2 separate regions of the Homo sapiens genome follow, and region 2 is linked to region 1. Evidence: promoter capture Hi-C in human tissues and cell types (Jung and others, 2019). All regions are on one chromosome and are shown on one strand. The core of a region is centred on a gene start or on the middle of the fragment in contact, and the rest is flanking DNA. Distances in the headings are between cores, read along the strand shown. Region 1 holds the start of BHMT2 (betaine--homocysteine S-methyltransferase 2). Region 2 has its middle 59 kb from the start of JMY.

Region 1 (5,634 bases), core at 1,258-3,757:
TTTTTTGAGACAGAGTTTCACTCTTGTCGCCCAGGCTGGAGTGCAGTAGCGCGATCTCAGCTCACTGCAACCTCCACCTCCAGGGTTCAAGCAATTCTCCTGCCTCAGCCTCGCAAGTAGCTGGGATTATAGGTGCATGCCACCATGCCCAGCTAATTTTGTATTTTTTAGTAGAGACAGGGTTTCACCATGTTGTCCAGTGTGGTCTCGAACTCCTGACCTTAGATGATCTGCCTGCCTCGGCCTCCCAAAGTGCTAGGATTACAGGTGTGAGCCACTGTGCCCGGCCAATTTGCCATTTTTCTACATAGCCATTAGCAAAATAACTAAGTTATCAAGATTTGAGATCAGAGCATCTTTTAGCCCTTCCTTCACTGCTATTCTAACTACCTCAATTAATTACTATACCAGTATGATCCCTTCTTTAGTTTTTTTTTTTTTTTTTTTTTTTACTTTTAAGTTCAGGGGTACATGTGCAGGATGTGCAGGTTTGTTACACAGGTAAATGTGCATCATTGGAGGTTTGCTATATGGGTTATTTCCTCACCCAGGTATTAAGCCTAGTATCCATTAGTTATTTTTCCTGATCCTCTCCCTCCTTCCACCCTCCACCCTTCGATAGGCCCCAGTGTGTGTTGTTCCTCACCATTATACTAGTACGATCTAAAGTCAACTGTAAAATTATAAAGACAGGAACATGTAAAATAAGGAACCCTGTAAATTAATTTTGCAGTACATTTATATTTTCATTCCCTCCTCCCCATCAGTTTGGCAGTGAACCTGCCTTGCATCTGACAGCGAGCTCTAGGGTGCATTTATGCCCCCTTTTTGCAGATATCACTACGTAAGACCTCTGGGTTTAAGATCTGGCTTCAAGACATCTCTATTCATACTCAGTGGGGATCAACTTCACTGTGTAGTAGGAGGTGATCAGAAAAACCCAGTCTGTCTAAAATAACTTCCCCTTTTCCTAGATTTGCCAGCAGAACTGCTCTTTTGGATTTAAGACCTAATTGGAGGTCTTGTCTGTGGCAATTAAATGAATTCTTAAAATGTACCTGCTAGCTGAGGAGAGAGGTGAGATTAGTTCCTTCCCATTAACACCTTAACTCCCAGGTACACATTCACATGGATTAGTGTGTGATAATCTTGGTGTTGTAACAGTAGAGGCCCCAAAGACACTGAACAAAAACAGGGCATTTTAAAAACGTTTAAAAATATGAACTGTAAAGATGAACATAGCATTAGAGAAAGTTGAGAGAAAAAAGCACAATGTTCTTTGATTATTTTTATTAACTGTATTCTTTCAATGCTCACATTTTGCTTTTATAACCTGAAAAAATATCCTAAAACATGCTTTTTAAACCAATATTCCACATCTTGTGTAACTATTACCATTATTGTGTCCTTCCTTACAGTGTGTATATAAATATTTGTATATGGTTGGGATCAGTTTGTGATATATTTCCTTTTGCAACTTAACATTGCCAAGGCACTTAGCTGGTTCTCATACTAAGTTATTTAACTGTCTAATAACTTAAGTAGATGAACCTTAATTTATTTAGAATCCCGTATTGCAGAGTATCTTGGTCGTTTCTAACTTTTTAGTATAAATAGCTCGGTGGTGCACATTTCCACGCATAAACTGCCCCTCCTCCCTTCCTCCCATTCTGAATGACAGGGCTGGAGCGGGTGGGGGTCTCTGAAGGGTCCTGGGGATGTCTTTCGTCCAAGCTCATGCCCTTCCTAATTTTGCTTAGTCACTCCTTCATCCCACCCCCACACATACTCGACGTAGAAATGGCTGGGCATAAAGCCAACATCTGGTGACCAGACCAGGAAAGGGGCCAGGAGCTGGGGACCACCGGGTGAGAGGAGGTTGAGGGGTGCTAGCGAATCCCACCTACCCTCCACCCTGCACCGCAGCTCTGGGGGCGTCCTTGCCCAGGACTAGTTTCAGACCAGCCGGCGACTCGCAAGGCCAGGCTGCTTGGCCAGGCTGCTGACTTTTCCAAAACGCGAGGGGACAGTCCGAAGAGTTCCCGGACGGATTAGCCCAAAGAGCTGCGGGCGAGGGTCGGTTGAGGGAAGAAAATGTGTGCGCGACATGCGTCCGAAAGCTAGACTTCTGATCCTCGCTCCCCGCGGGGCTGGACCCGTGACCCTGAGCTAGTCGCCTGACTCGCCGAGCCTCAGTTTCCTCACCTGTGAAATGGGGATAATTGTGAAGATGAGGAGATAACTTGAGCACAGCACTCTGTGCAGCGCCAGGCACCGAGTAAGGGCTCCATAAACGCTAACCAACCCGTGACAGGGGAAAATTGAGGCTCAGGGCCATCCCGTCCAAGTGTTTTGCCGAGGCCCCAGGGCTTGGCTAGGGATGGACGCCGGGTGTGAACGGAGTCGCTCGCAGCCCAGCGGCCAGGAGCTCCGCGAGGATCGAGGGGACGAAACTCACCTTCTTGGCCCCCGGGCGTCCAGCAGGTGCCATGGTGCCGCGGCTCTGTGGGCGCCGGGTTCCCGGGCGCGCGGCCGTCTAGGAGCCCGCCCCCAGCCCGGGGGGAGGATCCGACCCCCGCCCCGCCGGCCCCGCGGCCTCAGGCTGCCCGCTGGCCTCGGAGCAGGCGCCTGCGCCCTCGGCCTCGGCCTAGTCATGCTCCGTCCCGGCGCGCAGCTGCTGCGGGGCCTCCTGCTGCGGAGCTGCCCGCTGCAGGGCTCCCCCGGGCGCCCGCGCTCTGTCTGCGGCCGGGAAGGGTGAGTGGGGCCCCGTCCTGCTCAGAGGCGACGGGGCGGCTGCGGGGGTGGGAGCCAGAGGCTGAGGCAGGCTCAGGGGTTAGGAGCGCTCTGGCCTCCAAGAAATAGGCCTTGATATATCTTCTCGAATTATCTTTTAATTATAAAGTGAAACAGTATCCAAAGGTTCCCCGTGTAAAGTCTCTCCTGCCCCAATCCCCTTGGCCAGTGAACAATTGTTAATAGTGTCTTCTGAATCTAACCAGAGACAGTCTACGCATAGGCAAACACAGGTCAGTATAGGTTTTCCTTTGGCTTTTTGACATCTTGCTTTTTACAATTATCAATATATCTTGGAGATTGTTCCATATCAGCACACACTGACTTGCCTTGTTCCTTTTAATGGCTGCATAGTTTTCCATCCTGTCAATATTCTACACTATCGTTAGTCTATTCATTAACATTTAAATGGTTTTTGGTTGTTTATTACTGCAAATAACGTGCATGTGAAAATTCTTAGGCATCTATCTTTGAGTACATATGGGAGTCGGTAGCAACAGTTTTTAAAGGTGAACTTGTTAGGGAAAAGGTTACGTGCATCTGAAAGATTGAAAGACAGCAACACATTCTCCAAGTGGGTGGCAAGAGTTTGCATGCGGCACACCAGTGTGTGTCTGTTTCCCACATCTTCCCTGGTTCCCAGAATAGCCCATTTTGTTATCTTTGCTAAATCTGATAGGTAAAAATGGCATGTCCTTGTTTTGATTGGTCTGTATTTAAATATGAGCAATGCTGAACATCTTTCGACTTCTTATATTTGTAGATTATTCCTGGTTGCCAGGAAAGGCTTGTTTATCAGCATCACTCAACATTATTATGAGTTGATTCGAATTTTATTTTATGTCCTATGACCTGAAATTCTGGAATCAGAAGACCTGCTTTTGAGTTCCATCTATCCATTCAACAAATATTTACTGGGTGTTGTGATGTGCTAGGTTTGTCTCCAGTACTGGGAATGCAGTAGCCACCAACTCACAGTTCCTGCGCCATCTGTTACACAGAATGTGACCTTACACTTCTGAGGTTCAGTTTCCTCATCTATAAAATGAGGATACTAATTTTGCTCTATATAACTCACAGGATTGCTGTGAATATTAAATAAGAGAATGCATGTGAAAGTGCTTTGTAAATTGTAAAGCAATGCAAAAATATTTATAATAATGATGTTTTTAATCCAGTGCAAAATAAAATGGAAATTTAACAAACAAACTGATTAGATAAATAAGATACAAATTTCAAGACTATCCAAAAAATTCATATTTTGGCTGAGTGTGGTGGCTCATGCCTGTAATCTCAGCACTTTGGGAAGCTGAGGTGGGCAGATTACTTGAGGCCAGGAGTTTGAGACCAGCCTGATCAACATGGTGAAACTCTGTCTCTAATAAAAATGCAAAAATTAACTGGGTGTCATGGTGTGCACCTGTAGTCCAAGCTGCTTGGGAGGCTGAGGCGGGAGAATCGCTTGAACCTGGGAGGCGGAGACTGCAGTGAGAACCGAGATTGCACCACTGCACTCCAGCCTGGGCGACAGGGATTCCATCTCACAAACAAAAACAAAAACACCCAAAAGTTGAGTTATTTCAATTGCATATTCTTTATATACCCAATTTCAAACTATCAAAAAATGTTTTATTTTGGAAAGCAGTTGAACAAGCATACAGTTTGTGCTTATCATTTCTAATACAGAAGATAACTGACCTGGGTTTTTTGCATGGCTCCTAAGTTTTATTTCAAATACTCTTATAAACATCCTCGACTACATTCAGAAGGATTTTAAGATAGTTATCCACATAATCAAAAACACTATACCTAGTCTGAAACCTATTATGGCATGCTGGGCCGAGGAAATACTATATATTTGATAATGCTTTATCATATGTTGCCAAACAGAACCTTCACAGCTCCGTTTTGCAAATGAGAAAACTTTGAGACCCTTGTGTAAATTTCTCTAAAATAGCTGTTCAGTTGGATTGGGGACTCAAACCCAGGTTTCCTGATCTTAAGTTCTCTTTTGTTGTTGTTGTTTCAACTGACCACTGTCCTGAAAGAAATAATTCTTTCTTTTGAACACACAAAAAAGAACCTTTAAGATTATTATTTTTGTCACCACTATAATGGTTTCAACTAAAGTACAAGATATGCCCAGTCTGTTTAAAAATGGATTTCCGTCCAAAGTAGTTGGGTCATATGTACATTATTTTTTTCTCACACAGCATACAAAGAGACATTAATAGTCATCTAAAAACCGGTGAAACAAAACTGCTGAAACATGTTGTGGCACCAGGAAATAAGGACATGCTCTAAGAATTATGTAGCCATGTCAAAAGCATACAGGAGTCAACTGAAAGAACCTCCTGCTGGCCAAATCTAGGACAATTTGGTATTCAAATAAATGATGACTAGTAATGGATTAGAAACCACTGAAAACAATAAATATCCATAAATTCATGTTAATATAAACAACCAACAAACAAGGGTGAAAGAAAATTACTTCCTTACAGTAGAATGCCAACTATTAAATATAATAGGAATGATGGGGTTAGGAAATAATCAATAGATGTTAAAGCCACTCAGTAAAAGTTTGATAAGGACCAGGATATTTACATGGTCTCAAAGTAACACTTCACATTATTACTTATACAAAGGAAAAAATGGTAGCTTTACTAGACAAATCAGACAGACACCACCTTAAGCAAGTCATCAGACAGAAACAACACCAATATCAGGACAAACCAACATCATACGCTTCTTAATCATATACACTGGGAAGGAGTCAACATCAGTTTCATGATGTTTTTGCCAAAAATGCATAACATAAGTCTCATCATGAGGAAACACCAG
Region 2 (5,702 bases), core at 402-2,901, 110 kb before region 1:
TGTCTCACTCTGTTGCCCAGACAGGAGTGCAGTGGCATGATCACGGTTCCCTGCAGTTTCAACCTCCTATTATATATATATATAATTATTATATATGAATATAAATATATAAATGTATATAAAATAATATACACATATATACACATATATACAATAAACATACATATATATAAAACTTGTCCAAGTGAGCCACTGCACCAGCCTATATGTATGTTTTTATATATATAATATATAGTATATATACTTAGTATATATACTAGTATATATACTTAGTATATATACTAATATATATACTATATATAATATATATTATATAATATAATACTATATATAATATATAGTATTATATAATATAATACTATATATAATATATAGTATTATATAATAAATATACTATATTATATATAGTATATATATTATATAATACTATAATACATATTATATATAGTATTATATACTATAATACTATATTATATATAGTATATTATATATAATATATAGTGTATATAGTGTATATATAATGTATATAGTATATATACACCATATATTATATATAATATATAATATATGGTGTATATATTATATATAATATACAATATATTTAATATATTATATATAATATACAATATATTTAATATAATATATAATATATGTAATATAATATATAATATATGTAATATATAATATATATGTGATATATAATATATGTAATATATAATATATGTGATATATTATATAATATATGTGATATATATGTGATATATAATATATGTGATATATATGTGATATATTATATAATATATGTGATATATATGTGATATATTATATAATATATGTGATATATTATATAATATATAATATATGTAATATATATTATATATTGTGTGTGTGTGTGTGTGTGTGTGTGTGTGTGTGTATACATTTTTTTTTTTTTTTTGAGACAGAGTCTTGCTCTGTTGCCCAGGCTGGAGTGCAGTGGCATGATCTCGGCTCACTGCAACCTCCACCTGCCGGCTTTCAAGCGATTCTCCTGCCTCAGCCTCCTAAGTAGCTGGGATTACAGGTGCACGCCAACACACCTGGCTAATTTTTTAGTATTTTTAGCAGAGATGGGGTTTCACCATGTTGGCCAGGCTGGTCTCAAACTCCTGACCTCATGATCCGCCCACCTCAGCCTCCCAAAGTGCTGGGATTATAGGCTTGAGCCACCGTGCCTGGCCTTATATATATATTTTTAAATTTTAACTTTAATTTTAATTTTTTTTTTTTTTTTTAGAGACAGTGTCTTGCTCTGTTGCCCAGGCTGGAGTACAGTAGTGCCACCACAGCTCACTGCTGCCTCAAACTTTTGGGCTCAAGTGATCCTCCTGCCTCATTCTCTCAAGTAGCTAGGACTACAGGTGTGGGGTACCACACTCAGCTTATTTTTGTGCTTTTTTTGGTAGAGATAGGGTCTCGCTGTGTTGCCCAGGTCTTGAACTTCTGGCCTCAAGCAGTCCTCCTGCCTTGGCCTCCCAAAATGCTGGGATTACATATGTGAGCCATTGTGCCTGGCCTTTTATTTAATATTATATCATAAATTTCTTTCCGTGATTTTATGTATCATAATGATTAATTAACTATATAATTTCTTTTTATGTTTATTATAATTTACGTCACTATACCCCTAATATTTATCTCTAATATAGTTTGGGGAAATTCAGCTGGTAATGCTATAAGAAAAATTTGGGAATATGTAGCTTACTCATTTTGTTAAATTATTTCTGGAGGATAGCTTTTCATAAGAAATATTATTGAATCTAAGACTTTGAGAGTGGGATATGGAGATGTGTGTGACTGCAGTCCCAGCTACTTGGGCGACTGAGGCAGGACGATTGCTTGAGCCCAAGAGCTCGAGGCTGTAGTGTGCAATGATTGTGCCTGTGAACAGCTGTTGCAGTCCAGTCAAGCCTAGGCAACACAGCAAGACTCAGTCTCAAAAAAAATGCTTTGAACAATTTTATGATTGTTGATATATTTTGCAATATTGTTTTCCAAACATACCTGTACCATCTCTAGATTAATGCGAGATTGTTTTGTTTCACGGGAGGACAAACACTGGAAAGAGTTCCTGGAATTGAATCTGTTTAAAAATAGACTAAAGCCAGGCCTGGTGGCCTGTGCCTGTAATCTCAGCTACTGGGAGGCTTTGAAGCCGGAGGATCACTTGAGCTCAGGAGTTTAAGACCGGCCTGGGCAATATAGTGAGACCCTGTCTGAAAAAAAAGAAGAAAAAAAAAAGAAAATAGACTAATGTGCAAAGCTAAATAAAATAGCAAATGCACAATAAATAGCAAACACTTTGAGTAATAAACTGATTTCAGATGTGATCTAACAAGGATAATTGAAAATCCCATCCTCAAGTTGCCTAACCTTTTTACTAAACCTCAATCTTTTTATCTGTAAAATGGGAGTAATAATAGGCCAGGTATGGTGGCTCACGCCTGTAATCCCAGCACTTTGGGAGGCCAAGGCGGGCGGATCACCTGAGGTCAGGAGTTCAAGACCAGCCTGGTCAACGTGGTGAAACCCCATCTCCACTAAAAATACAAAAATTAGCCAGGCGTACTGGTGCATGCCTTTAGTCCCAGTTACTCTGGAGGCTGAGGCAGGAGAACCACTTGAACCCTGGAGGCAGGGGTTGCAGTGAGCTGAGATCGCGCCACTGCACTCCAGTCTGGGTGACAGAGCAAGACTCCGTCTCAAATAATAATAATCATACTAACAATGAGCAGCACAACAACATTTTTACAGTTTTTATCATATGCTAGGCACTGTTCTAAACACTTTACATACACTGGCATTTAATTTTCATAATCCTACTAGGTAGACCTTATTATTATGTTTATCCCTATTTTGTATTGTTGAGGAACTGAGGCATAGACAGGTTAAATGACTTGTCCAATGATTACAGCTAATAAATGGCAGAGTTGGAATTCTAACTCAGACAATCTGGTTCCAGAGTTTATGCTCATAATCACTAAATAAATAAGATAGTTCATATAAAAACACCCAGTCCAATACTTAGCATATAGTAAGTATTCAATAAATGCTTGCTATTATTATTATAATGTATTTTTTAAAAACCCAACTAAACTAGTAAAGGGAGTGGCAGAATTGATTTAAAAGCTCTACAAAACAGAGTCAATGAGTGCAAGTTTCAGCAAAGTAAATTTTGGCTCAGTGGCGGTAGTTTGCATTGGGATGCTGGATATAAACAAGGAGAGGCTGAATAACCACTTGTCAAGAACTTTGTAGAATAGATTTCTTCATCAAGTGGGTAGCTGAACTGGATGACCTCTAAGGCACTTTCCAACTTTGTATAGAGTTCTGTGATTCTAGGCCAGAATCTTTTCTTTTTCCATACAGTAAAGCTTCATTTTTTTTTTTTTAACACTAGGTTTGGTTTACCAACTTTGTTGATGTTATTGTCATTTTAATTGTCTGAATCATTTGCCAAGGAGATTGTGTCTTTGTAGCATGCGTTAAGTCTTTGGCAGTCTCTCCTGTTGTAATATTTGATGTGTTACAACACCTGAACATTATAATGATAGGTTCTGGGGAAACTGACATGTAAACATGTAAGTAACTATGCAGTGGTGGTCAGCCGTCCCAGGCAGGGTTCTTCAGGATTACTGTCACTTGGCTGAATATCATTTGGAGTCTGTCGTCTTTATCCAGATAACTTGTAGGCCCATGAAATAATCATGGGGGGCTTAAAATTAACATTAAAAATTATGGGATTATGATTGTGGATGAGAGTTCATGTCACATTTATAACAACATTGTTCGCAAGTGACTCAGGGAAATTTCGGTGAGTTTCCTGCTGGGAAGGGGAATTGCTCCCTTGATGGAAGTAATAGTTTTGCTCAAGTCATGGGAAGCTCCTCTTGATCCCATAATTTGTCTTCCCTTTGGATTTTAGTCTAGGCAATTATTTGTCTTTACCATTACATCTTGAGCAGTCCTTCAGGATAATGCACAATTTTACCATCAACTTTATGTCATTTCTCCAAGAGGGGTGATTTAAAGGGCACAGCTAATTCTGTTACAAAAATGTTGATGATGGAATCTAGATCAAATGTACCAGACTGACTCAGAGTAGGTGCTAGAAAACAGTTTCTTCTTGGCTATGTTTTTGTCTTTGGTCTAATGTTTTACAGTGTGTGCGTGTGCGTGTGTGTGTGTGTGGTTGTTTTTTTTGTTTTTTTTTTTGAGACAGAGTTTTGCTCTTGTTGCCCAGGCTGGAGTGCAATGGCACGATCTCCGCTCACCGCAACCTCCGCCTCCCAGGTTCAAGAGATTCTCCTGTCTCAGCCTCCCTAGTAGCTGGGATTACAGGCATGTGCCACCACACCCGGCTAATTTTGTATTTTTAGTAGAGACGGGGTTTCTCCATGTTGGTCAGGATGGTCTCGAACACCCAACCTCAGTTGATCCCCCTGCCTCGACCTCCCAAAGTGCTGGGATTACAGGCATGAGCCACTGTGCCTGGCTACAGTGTTCTTAATGTAACTAAACCAATGTAACTAAACACTGGTTTTGTTACTATGGAGACAGATTAAAATAGACATGGAGCTTTAGGTATCAAACTGTCAATAAATTTACTATGTAAAAAATGGAAAGTAGAATCAGAAGGAAGGCCAGACAAAGGTTTTCAAAGCAATGTTAGGAGATTTAATCTATAATATAGTAGGAAATGAGAAGGCCAGGGAGCAGAGAGACCTTTAGACATTGGATCCTCAAAAATCTTAAGATAAGAAGTTTGAAATGATTATTTTTGAATCACTATCACTGAGACACGTAATCTGCCTTATAAGGAAAATAATCTCTTTTTCTTTGGTGAGATTTGATTATTTTCAACATTAGTAATAATTATCCTAAAACAACAGTTGTTACATGCTGACTTTTCATTAATAATGGTACTTTTCAATTTATGTATCCATGCATATACACTGTGGTTTGTTTTGTTTTTTTTTTGTTTTTTTTTTTTTGAGACAGAGTCTAGCTCTGTCACCCAGGCTGGAGTGCAGTGTTGCGATCCTGGTTCACTGCAACCCCCTGGTCTCCTGGGTTGAAGCGATTCTCCTGCCTCAGCCTCCCGTGTAGCTGGGATTACAGGCACCCACCACCACACCTGGCTAATTTTTGTGTTTTTAGTAGAGACGATGTTTCGCCATGTTGGCCAGGCTGGTCTTGAATTCCTGACCTCAAGTGATCTGCCCACCTCGGCCTCCCAAAGTGCTGGGATTACAGGCATGAGCCACTGAGCCCAGCCTCCTGGGTTTAACTTAGAAACATTGTCACTCAAATTTTAAAAATGAACAAATGCCATTTAATTTTGAGGAAACAAAAATTGGCTTTGTAAACTGACCAACTAATAAACAATTATGAGCATACATTTGGAGCATTTTGCTTTTGGGAACTTCAAAGAAGGTGGCAAACTGTCAGTAATTACAGGCATCATTATCCTTGTGTTATTCATAATGAATCAAATAGAATGAGGGCGGTGCCTCCAGTCACGCAGGAAACTTGAGCTGGAACCCTCAAGACGTGAATGACAACACTAGGGCAATTAGAATCAAGGCTTTTTTAGAATGTAAGTAGCACTACTTACAGGAACATTGTTATTTACATACACAAAGTAAATATTGAAAGATTGG

The links. The method cuts DNA at HindIII sites, captures the fragments that hold promoters and counts their contacts. A contact is called where the count stands out against the background at its distance.
Region 2: a contact is called between a fragment that was not itself captured here and the fragment with the promoter of BHMT2 in region 1, in 2 of the 25 tissues and cell types used here (neural progenitor cells and thymus).

The regions. Positions count from the first base shown.
Region 1 is chr5:79,066,640-79,072,273 of GRCh38, reverse strand. BHMT2 (betaine--homocysteine S-methyltransferase 2) reads right to left here and starts at 2,507. Exons shown (of 8, transcript NM_017614.5): 1 at 2,459-2,507. The coding sequence starts at 2,491. It overlaps DMGDH (dimethylglycine dehydrogenase), which reads left to right and starts at 2,600. Exons shown (of 16, transcript NM_013391.3): 1 at 2,600-2,754. The coding sequence starts at 2,654. The HindIII fragment of the contact is 19,729 bases long and covers 1-5,634 here.
Region 2 is chr5:79,173,831-79,179,532 of GRCh38, reverse strand. No RefSeq gene overlaps it. Among named protein-coding and RNA genes, the nearest start is that of JMY, 59 kb to the left of the region's middle. The HindIII fragment of the contact is 8,849 bases long and covers 1-5,702 here.